2 separate regions of the Homo sapiens genome follow, and region 2 is linked to region 1. The links are contacts of gene promoters, found by promoter capture Hi-C in blood cells and fetal thymus (Javierre and others, 2016). All regions are on one chromosome and are shown on one strand. Each heading gives the region's core, a stretch centred on a gene start or on the middle of the fragment in contact. The rest is flanking DNA. Distances are from core to core; before and after follow the strand shown. Region 1 holds the start of ANKRD63 (ankyrin repeat domain 63). Region 2 overlaps FSIP1 (fibrous sheath interacting protein 1).

Evidence for each region. Contacts are between HindIII fragments. The CHiCAGO score rates a contact against its expected background, and 5 or more counts as called.
Region 2: a contact is called between a fragment that was not itself captured here and the fragment with the promoter of ANKRD63 in region 1, in 7 of 17 cell types (naive CD4 T cells, total CD4 T cells, naive CD8 T cells and 4 more). The highest score is 10.9, in naive CD4 T cells.

The regions. Positions count from the first base shown.
Region 1 is chr15:40,280,931-40,285,875 of GRCh38, reverse strand. ANKRD63 (ankyrin repeat domain 63) reads left to right here and starts at 2,812. Exons shown (of 1, transcript NM_001190479.3): 1 at 2,812-4,945. The coding sequence starts at 3,290. The coding sequence ends at 4,432. It also overlaps a transcript of PLCB2 not described here. RefSeq lists silencers at 2,851-2,920, 2,991-3,050, 3,061-3,330. The HindIII fragment of the contact is 15,046 bases long and covers 1-4,945 here.
Region 2 is chr15:39,682,765-39,687,709 of GRCh38, reverse strand. All of the region lies in intron 10 of FSIP1 (fibrous sheath interacting protein 1), which reads left to right. Among named protein-coding and RNA genes, the nearest start is that of FSIP1, 98 kb to the left of the region's middle. The HindIII fragment of the contact is 7,515 bases long and covers 1-4,945 here.

The DNA of each region.
Region 1 (4,945 bases), core at 1,563-4,062:
CAGGGAGGAGGGGCTCTTCAGGACCAAGAAAGTGCCCATTCTGGGTTTCTGCTGCTTCTCTCCTCCACCTGGGGGGGTGTGAGTCATGGCTTGTCAGGCTGGTGGGCCACACACAGGTTCCAGGGGTACACCCTCCTCTGACCTTGGAAATAGAAGGGAAGAAAGCAATTTCCCTCACAGTGCTGAAAAGAGAAGTTGAGTCATAAAGGGAAGAAAAGCCTTTCTTCTGCTGAGTAAAGGAGAGCATTCCTGCCCAGTTACTGGGGGTGGAGAGTCTCTATCCATTCCTGGGGGCCACCCCAGAAGGGGGCCCTAGCTCTGGGGCGGGAGCAGCTTTGAGGGCTGCACTCTAAATAACTATGCAGCTCTAGAAAACAAAACAAAACAAAATAAAAAAAATGAAATAACTATGCAGCTCTTTCCCTGACACTTTCTAACTTGTTCTTGTGTAAAGCAGGCAGGGCTGGTATTTATCAGTCTCATTTTGCAGCTGAGAATATGCAGGCTTGGAGCCACACTGCTAGTAAATGCCTTCAAGCTGGGACTTAACGCTGATGTCAGATCTGTGGCCTTTTCATGACACCAGGAAAGAAAATTGGCAGATCCCTGACCAAAGGCTTAACAAATGCAAAAAGAGAAAAGGGGGGCTTCGTAGTGGATGCAGGTACACATCACACGCTCCTCACGTGACAGAGGGGAGTGGGAGCCTCTGCTCCATGGCCTGGGTGCCAAATTCAAGGTGGACATCCCCGGAGCCTGGGAGCTGGAGAGAGGCAAGGGGTTCAGGGTGCAGGGCCATGAGCCCACTTTGCCACGCCTATCTATGCCCAGTACCTTTCCCCAGGCATCTCCTACTCCAAAGCATCTGCTCAGACTGAGAACACCATCATTCTTCCCTTATTTCCTGTCTCTGATAGGAAGGGACCCCTTAAAGCAGCCCTCAATAGTGTCCCCTGAAGGTTTATCCTGCTTCCAAGCCTTTGCCTCCAGAACCCGTCTGGAATTACTTCCTTTTTTTTTTTTTTTTTTTTTTTTTTTTGACGGAGTCTCACTCTGTCTCCAGGCTGGAGTGCAGTGGCGTGATCTCGGCTCACTGCAACCTCTGCCTCCCAGGTTCAAGCAATTCTCCTGCGTCAGCCTCCCAAGTAGCAGGGACTACAGGCGCGTGCCACCGCGCCCAGCTAATTTTTGTATTTTTAGTAGAGACGGGGTTTCACCATGTTGGCCAGGATGGTCTCGATCCCTTGATCTCGTGATCCGCCCGCCTCGGCCTCCCAAAGTGCTGGGATTACAGGCGTGAGCCACTGCACCCGGCCTGGGATTCCTTCCTTCTTTCTTTTGCAGCCAGATCCCGCACATCCTTGAAGGCCTATCTTTAAAAGGCCCGAGAGCCCTCTCCTGCCCACAACTCCATCTTTTCATCCAAGGACTGTGTTGGTACGTATTTAGCAGAAGAATTCAGCCCTCAGGTGACAACGTCCATTTTTTAAGTCCCAGTGTTGTCTTCTTAAGAGGTGGAACGTCTCGCACCCAGAACCGAGATTCTGTCTCTCTCTTACCCGCTGCCGGCAACAAAATGTGCGGCTCATGAAAAGTCTCAGTAAATTCTGCAGCTGATAACTGCTTTACTCCTTACTTTACAAATATCCATTCCAACCCTACTCACACCCTCCCCACCACCCACACCCAGGCTCTGAGGCGCCCTAACTCTGCTCCGCCCAGGCCTGTGTATCATCCCCCCTCCTCCAGGACCGAGGGGGACCTGCTGGCCGGAGGGAGAGGAGATGCAGTGGTTTCTCCAAGCATCTTACGGAAAATGGAACTTGTGCTCGCCTCCTCTCTTTAGGGGTCAGCCAGTGGTCAGAGCCAGAGCCCTGTGGCCTGGGGGTTGTTTTGTGCTCAAGGGAGAAGCGAGGGGCAGGGAACCTCGAGTGGGTCCCTAGCTCTTTCCAGGGTGGCGGCGCCAGGGAACTTTTAACATGTCCGCGGCACTCCCGGGTCCTAAGGAGCCCCTCCCTGGTCTGGGCGTCTACACTCTGCCCGCTAGGCAGCCACCAGGAGCTGGCACGCGGGCGCGTTGTCGGGGTTGGAGACGTCTGAAATTGGAGAGCGCACTCGGACCCCACCCCTCGTTCCCAGGGAGCGTGTGCGGGTGGAACAATTGTGTGTGAGTGCGTGATTCTCTGCACTTCGAGTGGCAGTTCCCAGCCAGGCTGAGCGCCCCCAATCCGCGGCACGTATACCCCCTCCCCCAAATTACTCCTCATCCGCCTTTCGCTGCCACCCCTAGCTCGCGCGTGGTCCAGTTCTGCGCTCATGGGGTCCCAATTCCTTTCACCCTGGACCGATGGGGGCAGCTTTCAGTCTTCCCCGACGAGGCCGAGGTCCCGCCAGTTTCTAAGGAGCCGAGGGCACCGACTCGGTTGGGGGCGGAGGGCGGGGAGAGAAGACTGCGACTTTGGGATTGGCCCGGTTGGGTGCATGTGGCCCCCGGCGAGCAGCCCCCGCCCCCGCCCCGCAACCGCCGCCGCATTCCCAGGGGAGCGCGGAGGAGGAACCGCTCCCCTACTTCGTGGCCCACGAAGGGGTGGGGGTCAGGAGCGGTCTCCCCCGCCCCGTCCGTCTCTGCCCTGACGGCGCAGTCCGCTCCCAGGACAGCCATTGCCATGGAGACCCCCAAGGCTATAAAGTCAGGTATCTAGGCGGGCGGCAGCTCCCGCGCCGCTGAGCCCCCCAAGTAAGGAGCAAGCGCCCTGGCGTGGCCCGGCCCCCGCGAGAGGGGAGGAGGCGGAGGAACGGCGCCAGCAGCTTGAGGAGCGGCGCGCCCCGCCAGGGCTGGAGGCAGGCGTGCACGGCGGGCGCCACCGTCGCTGCGGGGGAGCGGGGGCTGCCCTGGGTGCGGGTGAGTGGCACGGCGGCTCCAAACCACGAGGACTGAGGGGCGCCGGACACCGGGAAAGCGGCGAGAGACTCGGGAGAGGGTCGAGTCTCTGCTCCCGACGTCTGGTGGCGGGCCAGGAGCGGAGCCCGGAGTAGCGAGCAATCAACACCTCCAGGCGGGAGGCCCGGGGAAGGAGCGGCGACACGCCAGGCGTGCGGCCCAGGAGCGGCGGGGCAGTCGGAGCCTCCGGGACAGCGGAGTAGGAACCTCGGGACCCTCGGCTGCAGCCGCCCACGCGCGGAGGGAGAGGTATCAGAGCGCGGGCGGAGGCCGGAGCCCCGCGGGGCGCGAGAACAGGGGCGCCCCCGTGCGGAACTGCCAGGCTGCCCGGGCGCGGCGGCCGGGGCCATGCTCAAACCCAAGGACCTGTGCCCCCGAGCGGGGACGCGCACCTTCCTGGAGGCCATGCAGGCGGGCAAAGTGCACTTGGCCCGCTTCGTGTTGGATGCGCTGGACCGCAGCATCATCGACTGCCGCGCGGAGCAGGGCCGTACGCCGCTCATGGTGGCCGTGGGGCTGCCGGACCCCGCGCTGCGCGCGCGCTTCGTGCGGCTGCTGCTCGAGCAGGGTGCTGCAGTGAACCTGCGAGACGAGCGCGGCCGCACCGCACTCAGCCTGGCGTGCGAGCGAGGCCACCTGGACGCCGTGCAGCTGCTGGTGCAGTTCAGCGGTGACCCCGAGGCGGCCGACTCTGCGGGCAACAGCCCGGTGATGTGGGCGGCGGCCTGCGGCCACGGGGCGGTGCTCGAGTTCCTGGTGCGGTCCTTCCGCCGCCTAGGCCTGCGCCTCGACCGCACCAACCGTGCGGGGCTCACCGCGCTGCAACTGGCCGCCGCCCGCGGCCACGGGACCTGTGTGCAGGCCCTCACCGGGCCCTGGGGCCGCGCCGCCGCCGCCGCTGCGGCCCGGGGCTCCAACTCCGATAGTCCCCCTGGCCGCCCGGCCCCCGCGGCCAGCCCCGAGCATCGACGACCCAGCCCCCGCCGCCTCCCGCGGCCTCTCCTGGCGCGCTTTGCGCGAGCGGCGGGCGGCCACGGCGGCGAGGCTGGCTCAGCGGGCAAGAATTCGGGCCGGCACCGGGCGCAGGGCAGCGAACGGCCCGAGCTGGGTCGGAGCATGAGCCTGGCTCTAGGTGCGGTAACCGAGGAGGAGGCTGCCCGCCTGCGGGCTGGGGCCCTGATGGCCCTACCAAACTCGCCCCAGTCTTCGGGGACTGGGCGGTGGCGCTCACAGGAGGTGCTGGAGGGAGCGCCCCCAACCTTAGCGCAAGCCCCCATTGGCCTCAGTCCCCACCCGGAGGGCGGCCCCGGCTCTGGCCGCCTGGGTTTGCGCCGACGCTCCACAGCCCCAGATATCCCCAGCCTGGTCGGGGAGGCGCCAGGGCCCGAGAGTGGCCCGGAGTTAGAGGCCAACGCTCTGTCTGTCTCGGTGCCTGGGCCGAACCCTTGGCAGGCGGGCACCGAGGCTGTGGTGCTGCGTGCTCAGCGGTAAACGGCGCCAAGGCCCGAGGCCTGCTTCCCCTACCCTCCCGTTTCTACTCCACTGGTATTTCTCTCTTCTAGGTCCCTCACCTTTTCGGCAGCCGCCCCCCGCAGTCCATTTTGGAACCTGCCTCCCTGCCAAGGCGAGACCTCCACCAGCCCTCCACCAGAAATAAGGGACCTCCATCTTCTTTTTTGTGCTCCTCGGTATTCCCTGCCTAGGTCTAGAGGTGTCGATTGACTGGTTCCGTAGGCTACAGCCAGGAAGGTGGATTCCCCCTCCCCAGCCCTCAGGCTCAATCCTGGGTCGGCCTAGCCATCTGTCGCTCCTGTCCGGCCCCCCTCCCCTCGCTGGGTTTCCCAACAACTGGGCAGCCAGGTAAATAGAAGGGTCCACCTTGGAGAATAAGGACCCAGCCTCCCCACTTTCTGCCTACTGATGCTGACAATAATCCCACAAACTACCAAAGTCTCCTTTCCCTCCAAGTGTGGGAGAAGGAAAGGACGGAGGGGGCCCTAGAGC
Region 2 (4,945 bases), core at 899-3,398, 600 kb after region 1:
ACCATGGGTAGGTTTTGGGCATACAGATTAAGACCTGGTCTTCTTTCTTGACAAACTTTTAGCTTGGTAGAGGAGGCCCTCATGTAGACAGAGAGTTACAATGTGAGGTATTCAGGCCTGAAAAAGAGGTGGATACAAAGTGCCAGGGAACCAGATGGGAGGTAGGGACCAACTCTGCAAGTGACTGGCTCATGTTTACCTTAGAATAGAAATGGCTGATTCTAGACGCTTGCCTCAGTCAGTTTAGAAAGGTGAAAGCTGGGTGCGGTGGCTCACGCCTGTAATCCCAAGACTTTGGGAGGCCAAGGCGGGTGGATCACCTGAGGGCAGGAGTTTGAGACCAGCCTGGCCAACATGGTGAAACCCCATTTCTACTAAAAATACAAAATTAGCTGGGTGTGGTGGCACATGCCTGTAATCTTAGCTACTTGGGAGGCTGAAGCAGGAGAATTGCTTGAACCCAGGAGGCAGAGGTTGCACTGAGCCAAGATCACGCTATTGCACTCCCACTCCAGCCTGGGCAACAAGAGCAAAACTCTGTCTCAAAAAAAAAAAAAAAAAAAAAAAAAAAAGGAAAAGAAAAGAAAGAAAGAAAGGTGAAAGGGCATTGGGTGTCAAAAGCAGGAGTGTTATTGAGTAAGAGGCTGCAAAGCAGGGAAGGACACAGATTGGAGAGAAAAGGAGAGATTGAGATTGCCAAGGAGAAACCTCACATTTAAAAGGTTTACTTGGGACCCAGCCATTTGTAGCTACCTGAAACTGGGATGATATTTTGCAAATAGATACAGACAAGTAGGCAGAACTGTCTGCCCCATTCTCCTGCCAACAACAAACAAAACATAAAACATAATTCCAAATAAGGGAAATGCCCATTACTCAGACTTTCCCTTTGAATCTAATAATGTCACCCAAGTCTTGAGGAATTTGCTAATTGTTTGTAGATCCTACAAGGTCATAATCTAGACCTGTTTTAAAAAATCTTTTAAAACTTCAATATATTTATTTGAAAGGGATGAAGAAATGATATACATTCTACCCAGTCTGCAGGATTACTTGACACTTGCCGTCATAGGCTGGGACTCAAGAAGTATTAGAGGCCACCATTTGTTTTTTCAGTTAGTCACAGCCTTTGCTCACAGGGCTTTTGAAATTATTTTAATTCAGTTACACATATAGTTGAAGCTACAAATTTATCTCAGTTCTACATTGTAATACTGGAACAATGCATTGCCAAGGGGCGATAAAGTCAGAATACCAATTTATATTGACAGTTTGGTGAGATATTCTTCTGTGATTATACACCAAAGCCTTAGATGTAGAAATTAATGGGAAAAGTTTTTAATTGAAAATGTATTTTCTCATTTTTTAAATTTATTTTTTGTTAAAGTGAGGCACCTGGGTTTGAATTTTATACTGCTAATACTTTGGGAAGGCCATAGTGGAGGTGGAAATATGGTTTTGAGATGAAGCAGTGTGAAGGTGCCACCTAGTGGTCACATAATCACGTCTGTGTTCTCTTTCTTGCCAGTGGAAATTGGGTACCCGTGGTGGGTTTCCTAGAGAATCCCCTTATAGGTGGTGAATTCGGTTAGCCTATTGCTGTCCTTGATAGGATAAAGTTTTTACTTTTACTTTGTGGTCACTGAAATTATCATCCTCCAAATTTGTTATTTGAAATTAGTTTTGTTAACTGGACAGCTCTTGTTACCCTTTTTGCTAATATTTTTAGCTAATTATGTCAGCAAAAACTTGGGTTAAATGTTAAAATTATAGTGTAATCATAGTTTCCCATTCCATTGGAATGGTCTGACATGTAATGTACAGAGAGCATGCAGAATGTCTGGAGTGTATCGTGGGACACAGCTAAAGCCTGGGTGATGGCCAGCTGCTGTGAGGTTTCATTAAAGGCCTTTCTTGTTGTTTTGGGATTAATCTCTCTTTAGTAGAATGCTGTAGAAGAAAAAAGATCAATAGAAAAACTCATCTTTTGTATAAAAATTTTTTTTTCAGATGAGATGTGTTCAGTAAGCACATACCTCATTAGAGAGATGGCAATGGATGGCTGACTACAGTCATTTCTTTTCTTTACCCTTAAACTACATGTAACCCAGAATTGAAACATATACTTGTATTGAGGTTTTCCAAAACAATTAGTGATAGAGATCTTAAGAAGGACCAGAATTCCTGGAGGGTGTTGTATGTTTTGTTTTCTCAGTGCAAGACATCTTTGAGGTTTCCTTTGCCATCAAAGGCTTTCTATGTGTGTTTGTTGGGGATGGCGGGGGGATTTATAGGAAAGGACTTTCACTGAGATATAAAATAATTTTCCCCAGGAGGATTTTTACTTTGCTAGTCTTGTTTTGGTATCTATTTTGGGCAATATTTACATTAAAAACTTAACATCTGGTAAGTACTAACATTTTATCTTTATCACACATGAACAATTTTTTTTTGTCATGGAAATCCTCATGGTGGAATTAACTAAAACATTATAGAAAGTTCAGGAGGGCTCTTCAGAACAACACAAACTTTAACTAAAAACTTTCCCTAAAGATGCTCTTGGAATTTGCAAATGCAGCCCAGATAGCACACCAGTCATTTAGATTTTAAAGTATGTGCTGCATACCCAACCTTGTCCTAGGTGGACATTGCTGAGAAAAATACACAAAAATAGTGTGATTTGTAGGAGTCTGGGTTCTCAAGGTCCTCAGAAGAGGCAGTACTGAGGCAAGTACGGAGCCAGATTGCCTGTGTTTGAGTCCCTGCTCTGCCCTGGACTAGCTGTGTGACCTTGGAGAAGTTACTTGACCCTCTATGCCCCAGTTTCTTCATCTGGGAGAGGGGATACTAATAACTTGCTTTGCAGGGTTGAGTGGAAAGCACTTAGAACAGTGTCAGGATATATGGCAGGAACTCCATCAATACAAGTCAGCTATTTCCATCCTCACCACATGGTAAAGCCCAGGCACCACACACAGGAGGACAGTTTAACACTGTATTTGATTAAGAAATGTTAAGGCCACTTACTAGAGGAGTTCATAAAAGAGAAAGCAGTGTAGGCTGGGGTATTTAGGAAAAGACATTCTATTTTAGGATTTGACATTCTAAAATAAAATTTATTTTTAAAGCAGCTTTCTCTATTTGGTTTTCAATTAAGGAGATCAATTCATTAGGATTCTTGGTGCTATTTCCTTCTATAGGGTTAAGGAAAAAGAGTAAGATTTCCCTTGGTGCGTCATTCACTTTTTATTCATTGAGCAGCTATTTATGGACTATGTGCTCTATGCCAAGCATTGAGTTTGAGTGAGCGAATGAGACAGGCAGGAATCACAGCTGTAGTGTCTGTTCTCCAGCCTTTTAATAATGTTCCGCATGTGCCTCAGTGACCTTTCCAGATTCCTTATATTTGGTTTATTTTAAATTTTATTTTTAAAAATTGTTTATGATGAAAAATTTCAGACACACATGTGTCTGTTCCTTTGCCAATACCACACTGTCTTTATTGCTGTTGCTTTATATTAAATTTTAAAATCAGCTTATATGATTTTTCCAATCTTATTTTTCCTTTATCAAAATTGTTTTGGTTATTCCAGTTCTTCTGTCTTTTCATATAAATTTTAGAATCAGCTTGTCTGTACCTACAGAAAATCATGCTGGGATTTTTATTGGGATTGCATAAATTTATAGATAAGTTTGGTGAGAACAGATGGCTTTATTATGCCGAATTGTCCAATTCATCAACATGGTATGCCTCTGTATTTATTTAGTCTTCTTTCATTTCTTTCAGCAGCATTTTGTCATCTTCAGCATGTAGATCCTGTATGTGCTTTTTGAGACCTGTACTTAAGTATAAATTGTAACACTGTAAGTGGTATTTTTTCTTGGTTTCTAATATGTGTGTTTTTTCTTTTGGTTTCTATGTATACAAGAAGTGTATATATAGAAAAATGGTTAATTTTTGTGTTGAACTTTATCCTGTGAACTTGCTAAAATGACTTATTAGTTCTAGAAATTATTTTCCCCTTGATTCCTTGGGATTTTCTCCATAGCCAGTCATGTTGTCTGTGAATAGGAACAACTTAATTTATTTCAAATCTGCATGCCTTTTATTTCTTTTCCTTGAGTTTTTTTCTTGCATTGGCTAGAACTTCTAGTACAATGTCAAGTAGGTGTGGTGGGAGTGGACATTTTTGCCTTGTTTCTGGTCTTAGGGGGAAAGCATTCAATCTTTCACCATTAAGTATTATGTTAGACGTAGGTGTTATCAGAATGAAGAAGGTCCCTTCTATTCCTAATTTGCTGAGAGTTTTTTTTTTTAAATCATGAATGTATGTTGAATTTTGTCAAATGCTTTTCTGCATTGATTGATGATGACTGTTTTTCCTTTTAATCTGATAATCTGGTGGATTACATCGGTTGTTTTTTGAGTACTCATCCAGTCTTGCATTCCCATGACAAAGCCCACTTGGTCATGGTTTGTATCAAGTTTTGAAGTTCCAGCTGGAAATCTCTAATAAGGGACCAGCCAGCAGAGAACAAGTAGGCTTGTGTTTGGACCAGTGTTTTGGAAACAGTTGGCTCACTGGGCTAGTGACCACCCTGTTAACTTCTGCTGACCTGTTTTCCAAGAACCCACCTGGTACCAACATGCCTTTACTGCCAGTGTATTTTGTTTCCACCCTTCTTTTGACTTATATTTATTGTTATTCTCTTTCCCTTTCTGTACTGGACCAGGAACTTCCATCAACTGGAATCATCTCTGGGCATCTTCGTCTTCCATTTGTGTTTTAATTTATAGCAAGAGAGTTTGGGAATAATCGTATTTTAAGAAACCAACATTTATTTAAATATAAACACATGTGATTAGAGTATTAAAATTTAAATGCTATTAAAAGTTTTTGCAATTTTTGTCATTTCATGAGGCAAGAAAAGAAAATATACGGGT